Linked DNA regions of Homo sapiens: all the other regions are linked to region 4. The links are contacts of gene promoters, found by promoter capture Hi-C in blood cells and fetal thymus (Javierre and others, 2016). All regions are on one chromosome and are shown on one strand. Each heading gives the region's core, a stretch centred on a gene start or on the middle of the fragment in contact. The rest is flanking DNA. Distances are from core to core; before and after follow the strand shown. Region 1 has its middle 52 kb from the start of SNTB1. Region 2 overlaps MTBP (MDM2 binding protein). Region 3 has its middle 11 kb from the start of SNTB1. Region 4 holds the start of DEPTOR (DEP domain containing MTOR interacting protein). Region 5 overlaps MRPL13 (mitochondrial ribosomal protein L13).

What was found. The method cuts DNA at HindIII sites, captures the fragments that hold promoters and counts their contacts. A CHiCAGO score of 5 or more calls a contact.
Region 1: a fragment that was not itself captured here is called in contact with the fragment with the promoter of DEPTOR in region 4 in 4 of 17 cell types (naive CD8 T cells, naive B cells, total B cells and 1 more); the score reaches 12.0 in naive CD8 T cells.
Region 2: a fragment that was not itself captured here is called in contact with the fragment with the promoter of DEPTOR in region 4 in 6 of 17 cell types (naive B cells, naive CD8 T cells, total B cells and 3 more); the score reaches 8.5 in naive B cells.
Region 3: a contact is called between a fragment that was not itself captured here and the fragment with the promoter of DEPTOR in region 4, in 1 of 17 cell types (naive B cells). The highest score is 5.7, in naive B cells.
Region 5: a fragment that was not itself captured here is called in contact with the fragment with the promoter of DEPTOR in region 4 in 6 of 17 cell types (naive B cells, endothelial precursors, megakaryocytes and 3 more); the score reaches 8.2 in naive B cells.

What each region holds. Positions count from the first base shown.
Region 1 is chr8:120,862,778-120,865,477 of GRCh38, forward strand. No RefSeq gene overlaps it. Among named protein-coding and RNA genes, the nearest start is that of SNTB1, 52 kb to the left of the region's middle. The HindIII fragment of the contact is 891 bases long and covers 988-1,878 here.
Region 2 is chr8:120,464,724-120,467,423 of GRCh38, forward strand. All of the region lies in intron 10 of MTBP (MDM2 binding protein), which reads left to right. Among named protein-coding and RNA genes, the nearest start is that of MTBP, 21 kb to the left of the region's middle. The HindIII fragment of the contact is 2,238 bases long and covers 175-2,412 here.
Region 3 is chr8:120,822,099-120,824,798 of GRCh38, forward strand. No RefSeq gene overlaps it. Among named protein-coding and RNA genes, the nearest start is that of SNTB1, 11 kb to the left of the region's middle. The HindIII fragment of the contact is 564 bases long and covers 1,104-1,667 here.
Region 4 is chr8:119,872,324-119,875,023 of GRCh38, forward strand. It overlaps DEPTOR (DEP domain containing MTOR interacting protein), which reads left to right and starts at 1,399. Exons shown (of 9, transcript NM_022783.4): 1 at 1,399-1,645. The coding sequence starts at 1,524. RefSeq lists enhancers at 1,226-1,520, 1,261-1,761, 1,437-1,696, 1,762-2,262, 1,897-1,996 and 1 more and a silencer at 1,245-1,417. The HindIII fragment of the contact is 2,864 bases long and covers 49-2,700 here.
Region 5 is chr8:120,404,282-120,406,981 of GRCh38, forward strand. All of the region lies in intron 6 of MRPL13 (mitochondrial ribosomal protein L13), which reads right to left. Among named protein-coding and RNA genes, the nearest start is that of MRPL13, 40 kb to the right of the region's middle. The HindIII fragment of the contact is 2,110 bases long and covers 290-2,399 here.

The sequences.
Region 1 (2,700 bases), core at 183-2,682, 990 kb after region 4:
GTATAAGTTGCCAAATTTCATACATGCTTACCTCAGCTTCTGACTATAATGGGGTAACCGTGATGGGACTTAATCCTCTCATAGTAAACAACTGGATAACTGGATGAAATACACAAGGCAACTATTTCTGGACAGTAGACAACAGGCAGTGCAGGGCTGTAATTTATGAGAGAAGGGAAATAAGCAAGGTGAATGCATTAGTTCCTTCTCACACTTCTATGAAGAAATACCCAAGATTGGGTAATTTATAAAGAAAAGAGGTTTAATTGACTCACAGTTCTGCAGAGCTGGGGAGGCCTCAGGAAACTTACAATCATAGCAGAAGGGGAAGCAAACACATCCTTCTTTACATGGTGGTAGGAAGGAGCATAATGATAACTGAGTGAAGGGGGAAGCCCCTTGTAAAACCATCAGATTTTGTGAGAACTTACTCACTATCCCGAGAATAGTACGAGGGAAACCGCCACCATGATTCAATTACCTCCCACCGGTTTCTCTCATGACACGTGGGGATTATGGGAACAACAATTCAAGATGGTATTTGAGTGGGGACCCAGCTGAACCAAATCAGTGAACATTATGTTCATCTGACTTTCTGTCCAGAAGCACTTTCCAGATAGCACGTAGAAGGAGAGCAATTGGAATTTAGAAAGAGTGAGACATCTGGAATTTAACGAGTAAAACCAGAGATTGAGGAGCTGCCCAGAGAAAGAGCTCCAAAATCTGTATGAAGACCCCCTTGAATACTAAACCACAGTTGTGAAGGGTGAGACTACATGAGACTGGGTAAAGAACAAACAAGAAATCGTAAGTTGAAGAGTTTCTAGAGTACACGCAGGGCTAGGAGATGTTTGTGTTCTGGTCAACCATAGTAAGGAGCCCTTGTTAAAGCTTTGAGGTATTCAGGGGGAAACACTAGAGGGTCATGCCTTTCAAGAGTGAAAATCTAGTTCTACAGTAAAGGACACTTGAAACCTGCTGTAACAAAGCTTATAGGAAAAGTTTGAAAAGCTCAAGCTGATCAACAAGTAACTTAAAAGTTTGCTAGAATAAAAAAAAAGGAACATTTGATGTGTGTGTGTGTGTGTGTGTGTGTGTGTGTGTGTGTGTAGGGAATCCAGGGATGTGATGTTCCCTCTAGGCTCTTAGTAGTGGGTACCAGCGTCAGTTCTGATGCAGGTTAGAGGGTAGTGCCGCAGACTCTGAGATTTCTTGGTGATAAATAGGATTGTAGTAGTAATGCACTGGATATGTGGACAGACTCAAGACTTCCTTGTTAGCCAGGGTAATGCAGGCAATGGTGATATCTGAGGTTGTGCAAACGTATTCTTAGCAGTGTAACATGTACAATGTCCAGAATCTAATTAAGAATAGTAAGCATTTGAAGAAGTAGAACAACTCAATTGATTACAGAAGCATCACAATTTATATTATAATAAAATAACAAATATTATATTATATATTATACAAATATATTTAATTAAAATGTAAATTAAAGTCTATTCTATTACAAAAAGCATCAGTCACCAGAAACAGATTTTAAAAACTGGCAAAGGCAATGGAATTGACAGAAAAGAACCTTAAAAGAGCTTTACAAATACCTTTAAAATTTAAAGGGAAACATAGCCTAACAAGGAGTGGGATGAAGGATTAAAACTGGAACTTCTAGAAATGGGATAATACATGAATGGAAAATTTCACTGGAGGAGATTAACAACTGATTAACACCAAGAATGCAAGAAAAAAAATTACTGAATTTGAAAGCATAGCAATAGAAACCATGCAAACTGAAGCACAGAGGGAGAAAAAATTGAACAAAATAAACAGAGCCTTAGTGACTCAGGGGACAACATTGAATGTCAACGTATGTGTGATTTAAGCTTAATAAAAGGGGAAAGATAAGTTCACACATAAAATTATTTGAAGAAATACTGGCAAAAATTTTTGCAAATTTGTTGAAAATGGTAAATCTATATATCCAAGATGCTCAACAGAACCTTAAGCAGGATAAACACAATGAAAACCATATCAAGGCATATTATAATAAAATTGTTGGAAGCCTATGATAAAAAATAAATCTTGAAAGCAGCCAGACACTGTATACAGAGTAAATCATAATAATAGGCAGACTTCTAGTCTGACACATTGTAGGCCAGAAGACAATAGAATGGCGTCTTTAAAGCCCTGAAAGAAAAAATAAAAAAGCTATCAGCCTAAAATTCTTTTTTTATTTATGATGGTGATGATGATGATGATGATTATTATTATTATTTTGAGGTGGAGTCTCGCTCTGTCACCCAGGCTGGAGTGCAGTGGCGTGATCTCGGCTCATCGCAACCTCCACCTCCCAGGTTCAAGGGATTCTCCTGCCTCAGCCTCTTGAGTAGCTGGGATTACAGGTGCGCGTCACCACGCCCAGCTAATTTTTGTATTTTTAGTAGATACAATGTTTCACCATGTTGGTCAGGCTGGTCTCTATCTCCTGACCTCGTGATCAGCCCACCGCGGCCTCCCAAAGTGCTGGAATTACAGGTGTGAGCCACTGTGCCTGGCCCAACCTAGAATTCTCTATTCAGTGGAAATAGCTTTAAAAACAAAGGCAAAATAGACTTTTTCAAATGAGCAAAAGCTAAGAGAATTCATTGACAGCAGACTTGCACTATAAAAGATATTAAAAGAAGTTTTTCATCTGGAAGGAAA
Region 2 (2,700 bases), core at 44-2,543, 590 kb after region 4:
TTTGATGAAGTGGCCTTTACCAATATTAACCTGGCTTTCATCCTCTAAGAATAACTAATTTACTAAATTTTGAAATTTTAAAATTTATCTTTTATCATTTATCCAACATATATTCTACTGTGTATGAGGTACTATACTAGATTTCGGGAACCCAGTAATGAAGTGTACAGAAGAAGCTTCTGTATTTGTGGAACTTACATTTTAGGGGACCAACAGAAAATAAATAACTACAGACATAATAAGAATTATGAAGAAATAAACAGCCTGAGATAGGGAATAAGTCAAGAGACCCTAGTTTAGATAGAGATTAATAAGGCCATACATTTCTCCAAACTATTTGCAGAGACAGCTTATGAATTAGTATATATTTTTTAAGTGCACTGAGAATAAAAAATACCCTGCTTCTATTTTAATCCAGGTAGCCAAGTAGCTCTCTGTATATCCCTGTCCAGTCACCTAATTTTTTGGAGATGCTTCCTTGTATGGATTGAGAAAATTGTTATTTATCATTAATTATCTATATTGCCAAATAAGGGAGGAAAGGAATATAGATGGTATAGTAGAAAGTCTTAAATAGAAGAGCATGTTTTTTAGAAAACTTGACTTTAAGCCATAGCTATGCCACTCACTGGCTTACAGCTCTTAATATTGTAAACTGGAAATAATAATCCCTCTGTTACCTATTTCAGAGTTGTAATAAAAACCAAATTGAAATGTATTTTATAAACTACCAAGTATGATATAAATGATGGTTGCTAACTAATTTTTTATTGTCTTTGAAGTTTATGTGGCCCAAATGATGGACACACATATGTGAAGCAGTTTCCTTAAAAGTATAAAGCGCTAGATATTAGATATTCTCTAAGTAATTTGAAGGTATGATGAAATTTATAGAAATTTTACAGAGAAATTTGTAGAAATCTTATAGAGACTTTTTTTTTTTTTTTTTTTTTTGAGACGGAGTCTCGCTCTGTCACCCAGGCTGGAGAGCAGTGGCGCGATCTCAGCTCACCGCAACCTCTGCCTCCCGGGTTCAAGTGATTCTCCTGCCTCAGCCTCCCAAGTAGCTGGGATTACAGGCATGTGCCACCATGCCTGGCTAATTTATAGAGACTATTTCAAGTCAAAATGAGATCTGTACCTATAGTTTAACACAGGTGTAACATAAGCATTAGTCCATCTAGTTATTGAAGATAGGCAACACTAATCCTAGAAGCACCCTAAACTATTAATGTTTAATAATATATTTTCAGTTGTTTTGTTTTAAATTTGTTGTATTAGATTATCATTTTTTCTTCTCAAACCATGATTGTAAAATATTACAACATACTTTATTAGTAAGAAATAGAGACTTTATAACTATGTTCCCAGTTCAATGCAGCAAAAGGGATTATTTTTGAAGCCATATATTATGTAACTTAGAAAACAAATCTAAATATGAAGTAATTTATTTTTCTTAAACATTGAGTTATGATTTGTTTTTTACTCTTTTTTTTTTTTTTTTTTTAGACGGAGTCTCGCTCTATTGCCCAGGCTGGAGTGCAATGGTGTGATCTTGGCTCACTGCAACCTCCGTCTCCCGGGTTCAAGCAATTCTCCCGGCTCAGCCACTCAACTACCTAGAACTACAAGCATACACCACCATGGTTGGCTAATTTTTTTTTGTATATTTAGTGGAGACAGGGTTTCGTCATGTTGGCCAGGCTGGTCTTGAACTCCTGACCTCAAGTGACCCACCCACCTCGGCCTCCCAAAGTGCTGGCTTTACAGGTGTGAGCCACTGCACCTGGTCATTTTTCACATTTTTGAAAAAGTGTTTAATTACATACCAGTTCTTTGAAATCTAGTGCTTTATAACTTGGGTTTCAGCTGGGCGCGGTGGCTCACGCCTTTAATTCCAGCACTTTGGGAGGCCGAGGCAGGTGGATCACCTGAGGTCAAGAGTTTGAGACCAGCCTGGCCAACATGGTGAAACCCCATCTCTACTAAAAATACAAAAAATTAGCCGGGCAAGGAGGCGCTTGCCTGTAGTCCCAGCTATGCGGGAGGCTGAGGCAGGAGAATCACTTGTACCCAGGAGGTGGAGGTTGCAATGAGCCAAGATCACGCCACTGTACTCGAGCCTGGGCAACAGAGCGAGACTCCGTCTCAAAAAATAAATAAATAAATACCTTGGGTTTCATTTATTAAACAATTAATTTTTTTAAAAATGTTTTTACTGCTGCTATCTGCCAGATGCTTGTTTGTAATATTGGATAGAATAAGATGGACAGGCCCTTTCTCAAGAAACTTTCATGGTGCTTAAATTCTATTGCTTTGTGTGATCTTCAGTCAGCATCTTAGCTTAAACAAATTATTTATCTATGTAACTATGATTAGCCCCAGAATATAAGTAAAAACTTCTTGGAGTAAAGCTTATTTTACTAATAATTAAGCTAGATTAGGAAAAGACAAGATAGGATTGTTAGGGAGTTATGATGTTCACTAATCTTCTGGCTGGGAAATATTTCTTCAGAGAGAGGAATTTGCAAGCTAGAAACATGATTTCCACAATGACTGCTTGTTGGAGAGGACCTACTGAAAAGATTTAATCAAGATTTTGAAACTCAGGCCAGGTGCAGTGACTCACGCCTGTAATCCCACCACTTTGGGAGGCCAAGGCGGGTGGATCACTTGAGGTCAGGAGTCCAAGACCAGCCT
Region 3 (2,700 bases), core at 136-2,635, 950 kb after region 4:
GACATGATGTCAATAACTGACTTTCAAATGGAGAAAGAAAATAACTCTCTAGGAAATATGGTAAACTATAAACTAACTTTTAAATATAGAGACAGAAACAAAGAGGATGTAACAGCAAGAGAAAGAGATCCAAATGTGGAAAAATTAGCAGTAAGAGAATCTAGTAATGAATAAATGGGTTTATGCTGTATGATTCAACTTTTTGTAGGTTAAATTTTTTTTTTCAAAATAGAGTTGGGGATAATAATGCAGAAACCTGAGCCCCACCTCAAAACATTCTGATGATTGCGATCTTAGTGTCTGAAAATGTAAATTTTATCAACAGGATTCTGATGCAGATAAGATAGCATTTTAAGAAAGATTAAGAAGATACATCATGGAAACTCAAGGCCAAAGACTCTTCAGGATCATATATCCTTGGCTAAAGAAACAATTTCTTTTGCCAAGCCAACACTGAAATTTCCTCTACCAAGGAATCAGTGGTTCTAGATCAGTCAAACCCAAGAAGATAGAGGGTACTCAACAAATATTTAATAAATGGTTGGGCATGTTGTCTCATGTCTGTAATCCCAGCATTTTGGGAGGCCAAGGCGGGATGATTACTTGAGGTCAGAAGTTCAAGACCAGCCTGGGCAACATAGCAAAACCCTGTCTCTACAAAAATAAAATAAAATAAATAAACATTAGCTGGGTGTGGTGGCACAAACCTGTAGTCACAGCTACTTGGGAGGCTGAGTAGAAAGGATCACTTGAGCCCAAGATGTCCAGGCTGCAGTTAGCCATGATCACACCACTGCACTCCAGTCTGGGTGACAGAGTGAGACCCTGTCTCTTAAAAAAAAATATTGCTGGATAATTGTGAATGCTTAGTAGACTAGAAAAACAGAAAGGAACTGATTTAGTGCCCCATGATTGTTACTCAGGTATTTTCAGATACTTTCTCTGTTGTAGTCTTTCCAAGAAACCAGTAAGATATAGAATGATAATTTATTTTTATGTATAATAAAACTCAGGTTGAACAACTGTGAAGTCAAACTACCTAGATATAAATTCCAGTTACTTAATTTACTGACTCTGTAATACTAGGAAAAGTAACTTTTCTAAGCTTCCATTTACTTGGCTTTAAAATAGTGTTTCCAAATTATTTTTATCTCATAGGATTATTTTAAAGATTAAATAAAATCGTGCATGTAAGGCACTTGACACAGGACTTACCTAGAGTAAGTGATCAATAAATATTAACTAGTCTTACTATGTCTGAGATCACTGAGCTAATAAGTGGTAAACAGCCTAAAGTAAATAGCTTAAGACAAGTGGAAAGATTATTTTCTCTATATTTAGTTAAAATAATAGTGTAATGAATATAAATTCACATTGAATTCTTCAGCTATTTCTTTTCTCCCTTTTCCCTTGCCTCCCTCTCTTTCCTAAAACAAACTGAAATTTTTATCCTAAGGCATTACAGTTTCAATGTGTACAGGATGCTGAAGTTTCATAGTAAAGTGCAAAGACTGGCAAACTATTTTCCATGGACTAGCTACTTGATTTCATAAAGTTTCATTGGAACACAACCACACACATTCGTTTACATGTTGTCTATGGCTACCATTCATGCTACAATGGCAGGCAGGGTTGAGTAATCCTGACAGAGACCATAAGGCCTGCAAAGCTTAAAATATTTGTAACTTGACCATTTACAAAAAAAGAATAACACCTGCTCCAATGTCTTAAAATGCTTAGAAAAGGACTGGAGCAACTTTAAAAGCAGGTAAATCTGGAAGTTAGGGTAAGGGGCGCCAGTCTGGCAAATACAGTCAGGTATCACTTAATGATGGGGATATGTATTAAGAAATACATTGTTAGGCAATTTCTTGTGCAAATAGCATAGAAGGTACTTAAACAAATCTAGATGCTGTAGCCTACCACACACCTAGGCTATGGACTAATTCCTAGACTACAAAATTGTATAGCATGTTAGACAATTATAACACAATTGTACGGGATCACTGTCATGTATGTGGTCCTTCCTTGACTGAAACGTCATTAGATGGCTCATAAATGTAATAGACATTCCAGTCTATGCTATGGTGGCTATCATAATTATAAACAAAGGAAATAAAAAAGAGAATCTGAACCAACATTTGAGAGGGCCTGCAATTAACCAGTTTGCCATATCTTCTCATGCAAGCCTCATATCAACTCTGTAAAGCAGAAGTCATCCCAGTTTCATAAATGGAGACTTGGAACACAGAGAGATGAAGAAACCTGCTCAAGGTCACATTAAGTGTGAGTGGAAGGATTGGAATTCAGACTTAAGTTTGACAGAGTCCACATCTTGTCCCCTTTCCACTGGGCTTCAGTCAATTGAAACTCAAATTTTACATTCCTGATTCTCTGAGTCAGGGCCTTTAAAATTATTTTTAAAGGGAAGCCCCCAAGAGGATTAACTTCTCTTCTGAAGAGTGAGTCTGTCAGCCTTACATGGCTATGCTTTAAATTCTGTCCTTTAGGCTTCCTGAAAGGTTAAAAAATTGTGGCTGTTCCTCTTAGTCACCAACCCCAATGCCCCCAAGTCCGATCAGTGTTACATTGCAGTAGAAATTTCAGTAAGATTGCAAAACCTTTTACTGCCTTTTACTTTCTTTCCAGAAAGTTAACCAACTGAAAAATTTGTTTGGGGATATTGGGGATCCCTTCCTT
Region 4 (2,700 bases), core at 149-2,648:
AAGGGCTACCTAACTTTCTAGGCAGATTACTTCATCTTTCTATACTTAAGCTTTCTCATTTGTAAGTTGAAAATAATACCAAACTCCAGGGTTTTGTGAGGATAAAGTGTTTGGCACAATGTAAAGCACAGAATAAATGCTCAACACACATGAATACTGCCATAAACATTACTTCGCCTTCCTGCAGACCAACTCCGACTCTGCATGAAACAGAAAATCAGAACATTTATTTGGTACTAATCAAATTTCTTTTCATAATCTTTTACGGATAGACAATACCATTGTATCCCCATTTTAAGAGGCAGTCTTTCAGTCTTTTCAAAGCATAACTTTGAAGCCAGAATTGCCTCGGTTAGATTTCTTCTTATTATTATTATGATGATTTGAGACGGAGTCTCGCTCTTGTTGCCCAGGCTGGAATGCAATGGCACTAACTCCGCTCACCCGAACTCGGCTTACAGCAACCTCCGCCTCCCGGGTTCGAGCGATTCTCCTGCCTCAGCCTCCGAAGTAGCTAGGATTACAGGCATGCACCACCACGCCCGGCTAATTTTGTATTTTTAGTAGAGACGGGGTTTCTTCATGTTGGTCAGGCTGGTCTGGAACTCCTGACCTCAGGTGATCTGCCCGCCTCGGCCTCCCAAAGTGCTGGGATTACAGGCATGAGCCACGGTGCCCGGCTCTTCTTATACTTATTATTTGCTTGCCTTAGACAAGTAACTTCACCTCTCCAAGCCTGCATTCTAATGCAAAACGAACACCAATACCTATTTTATGAATTATTGTAATAATTAAACGAGGTAATACCATACCTGAAGTATCTTTAATGCAGCAGATGTCAAAAGTGGTAGCCGCAATTATTTTTATTTTGTAAGGGAGGATTAAACACATTTAAATAGGACATCACAGGAGCGGAGCTGGATCCCAGGTCAGCCTGATTCCTAGGCCGGCGTTCCTTATTGATTACAACATAAGGCAAACAAGTCGTCTTTGGAGAGAGAGGTTGGGGAGAGAAGAATGTTTAATTTCTCCATGCCCTTCAATGACATGTATAACCTTCACTGTTGACCATTTGGCCAGATTGTTGAATTATGTTTTGCTCTCTGGCAACTTGGGGTGTGGAACGTACAATAAAAACGCCTTCACACTAATAACCTCCAGGCCTGTCCCCAGGATTCTACAGCATGAGCTTTGTGGGTAAAGAGAGCTCACCAAATTCAGCCTCCAGCAGCACACACAGCTCAGTAGCAGCGCCCCGCCCAGATGTTTATATTTTCCTCCATCGGCCCCGCCCCCCGACCATGAGGGGCTCTAGCCACGCCCCCAAGCTCAAGTTTCTGGGGCCGGACTAGCCCAGCGCGTCTGCCTACCCATAGGGATTCCCTCTCCAGCCAATCCAGTCAGAGCAGCGGAGCTGCCCCGAACAAAGATGGCGCGGGAAGCGTCTGTGAGGGCAGACTGATCCGAGCACCCAAACCCTCGGCGGACAGCGGAGCCAGTGGTAGCCGCACGGCCCTAAAACCATGGAGGAGGGCGGCAGCACTGGCAGTGCTGGCAGTGACAGCAGCACCAGCGGGAGTGGCGGGGCGCAGCAAAGGGAGCTGGAGCGCATGGCTGAGGTCTTGGTCACCGGGGAACAGCTACGGTAAGGCAAGAGACACAGCGGGTGAGCTCACGATGGCACTGCCAACGCGTGCCCGCTGCAGTCCTGCGCGCACGCGCTCCCTGGCTCGTGGCTTGCGACTCGCGTGGGGCGCCGGAACGGCTGCGGGCGCGTGGATGGTCCTCGGTGCGCCCGCGCTTAGCTGCTGCAGCCTCGGTCCCTGAGGACTCGCTCGCCAAGCGGGGCTGCCTGGCAGAAGCCGACGAGCGGGTGGTGCGCGCTGCGCCCTAGCCTGGCTGCTGCAGTCCTGTGCCGGGCAAAGTCCCTGCCACCCACCGCGCTGTCCGTCTTCCCGTGTACCTGGACGCCGCCAGGCCTCCCGGCTGACAGCCTGCGCCTCATCCGCGAAGAGAGCAAGAGGGGTCGCTGTGGGGTCCCGAGGCGACCCCAGCCCCTCTACTCCTTGATAAAAGGAGCAAGACCAACGATAGTCTTCACTAGGTTTTCCTTTTTGCTGACAAGTCTTCCTTCACTCCCCTGAGCCTCGGTGTTTTACATCTGTAAAACAGGGCTGATTCAAGGGCTTTTTGTGAGGTTAAACTGAGAGAGCATTTCTGAAACCCTGCACCTATCAGTTAATTGGCACATCGTCCTCAATCATTTGGGTCCGCAAGGGGGCGTGGAGGCACCTTGTCGGGCTGCCTTGAGGCTGTGCCAACTCCCCGGGCTCGCACGTTTTGGGCAGCAGGATCCATGGGGACCCTGGCTCCTGCAAGAATTAAGACTTGCGGCGTCTCACGGAACTTGGGAACAAGGACGACCCCCAGAATCCCCCTTGCCATTCCCATCCCTGTATGGTCCTTCCTCTAGGGCTGTTTGGGAATAGTACTTATGGTCTAACTGGTTCTGCAGCTGCCCTTCGTGTGGTTATAAATCAGTTTGCCAGGAAAAAGAAAACCCAGCTCTGCAGCGTTTGAGCCACAACTTGTACGCGGGCCCCTGTTACTTCTAGTTCTTAGCCTGAATTCCCCAGCTTGTTTTGGTTTCTAAATGTCTGTGTTTCAGGACCTGAAAGAGTGTCTTGCAAAGGTCTCTGA
Region 5 (2,700 bases), core at 95-2,594, 530 kb after region 4:
TTAGTCACAGTCACCAGTTGTTTCCACACAAAAGGTTAATTTATTTAATTGAAATGAAATGACAATACCACCTTTCAGTGGAATTTAGAAGTAAAATTGAATGGTATAATCCACCACATAAAGGAATGTGGACATTGACCTCAAAGCAAATTTCCTCTTTGTCTTTTCTCTGCCTGGCAACCATGACTAATCTTTCAAAATCCACCTCAAACGTTACATTTTCTGTCAAGCTCTTCACAACAATTCCTTTCTAACACAGACTGGGCTCCTTTCTCTAGGATTGCCAGAAAGCTTAATGCATGCTTCTACTACAATGTTTCTCTAATCATACTGGCTCTTCCTTGTAAATAACACATGCTGAGTGCTCATTAGATGCCACAAAGTATAATAAAGACTTCACATGAATTATTTTATCCTCACAACTACTTTGTAAGAAAGACACTGTTATTAGTTTCATTCTACAGTGACAAAACTTAGGCTCAGAGTAGCTCAGTAACTTGGCTAAGGATACACAGCTAGGAGGTAGATGGCAGGGATCTGAGTGTAAACAATTTGACTCCGGTGCTTGCAAGCACCATTTTATTCTATATGATGCCTCTTAGGCTGCCAGTCCTTTGAAGGCAGGGCCCTGATATGATTATCTTATACTCCCAGCAGCCACGGTAATGCCTGATACACAGTGGATGCCTAGTATATCTGAGCACAGTACAGAGTACAGTGACCCCCTTGAAAATGCCACTTCATGTGCAAATTCATCTTTAAATAATCGGGATATTTTCCAGATGGTTAATTTGCTTCCAAAGGGGGAAAAGCAGTATCATGGCCAAAGACTAGATAGTTAAGATAGTGGCACAGCTGGAAACATCAACTCATACTGGAGGCAATTAATGATACACATTTTTCAGGAGGTTCCCCTGTGGGGAAAAGAGAGGTTTTTACACTAAATATGGTTTTACTTCTCTCTGTCTCAAACAGAAATGAAAACAAGCATACACACAACTTTTCTGTATTGCTTATTCCTTTCCACTAAAACAACGAAATTCAAGGTAATATAAGAAAGGGGAGGAGAGGGCTATTTATGTCTGTGTTTCTCAAACTTCAGCAGGCATACAAATTGCTTGGATTCTTATGAGAATGCAGGTCCTGATTTCACTTATTCTGTGGAGGGGCTCACGATTTGGCAATCCTAACAAGTTCCCACTTGATGCATTGCTGGTTTATGGACCACATTCTAATTAGCATGGGTTCCCCTTAGACCAAAGACAGAGCTATTTATAAGACAGAGGAGCACCTTCAGTAAGAAATTACTAATACTATCTAACAGAAGGTAACACACATACTTCTTCCTAAACTAGAGATGACTCCATTTGATACACAGTATCTTTCCTGGTTCTTTTCTCCCAAACTGTAGTTCAAGCAGCTTTAGTACTCAGCAAATGTATTTAGGTTCTTTAAAAGTTGGTAACCCATATATGGTAACATGCAAACTAGAATTGAATTCTCAGATTATGTTGCTTACATACCCTATTTTGTGCTGAGGTGACCTAATCTCTTCACTAGATTAAATAGTTTTTAAAAACAAGAAGGGTGGCATCTAGCACATTACTTTTCATACTATGAATGCTTAAATATTTGAAACTTAAATGAAACGGCTTAATCTTTTAAAAGAGGGATGATAGGTGAATGTATATTGTACATTAGCCCTACTTCTTTGTCACTGTTTCATTGGAAATAACAAATTATGTAGTTTTAAAATGTGCGTTAATGTTATATAAGGTTAATATATTTGTAAATAATAACAGTATTCTAAAATAATCACAGGAAATCTTTAGAGGGATATTTCAAATGCCATTTCTGAAAGCTAACACCTGTCAATTTTTTTCATATAAATTATACAAATTTACTCCTTGACAGAAATATAAGTTGTATTTTAATGAAATTACCATGATTGTTCTTTAGACATGTAATACAAAGTATCCAAAATTGTATATATTAGAGTTGCATTAAAGTAAGGCCTGTTAAGAAAAATGTCTATTTTAGTTATAGTTAGACAAGATTTAAGTAAGGAGCAAAACCCAAAACATGAATTTATCACACTTCATGAACTGAACATCAATTTCCCTTTCAGGGAGGATATGATTCCATTCATGCATTCATTTATTCAACAAATTGACTGGTCAGGTCCTGCTGTGGGCGCCGGGAATAAAGTAGTGAGCAGGACCCAGTCCTCATCTTTATAAAGCAGTTTCTAACAGTGGATTATATATGTGTGCATGTGTGTGTGTGTGTGTGTGTGTGTGTGTGTGTGTGTAATTGTTATCTAATACAGCTATGATATATATTTTATATACAATTTATATATAGTATACTTATATATAAAAATATATGAAACACACACAAGCTTTGATCTTTGAAGTGAAAGACGAAAGTTTTAAATTTTCATTTATGTGCTTAAAATATACTTGGGAGATTAATGAATCATCTAAGAAATAGCTAACATAAAACTTTCCTTAATTCATTCTCTAAATTGTGCTAAACTTTCCATAGCTATCAAATGTTCTGTAACAACTATCTATTTTGCAGATACTTGTCACTAGCAAAAACTGCCTTTATACAAAGTAACTTTCGAAAATAGTATTACATTTTGAGTGAGAAAACAGAACTTTAAAAAGCCTCATCTGAGTTGTAGAAAATATTCTC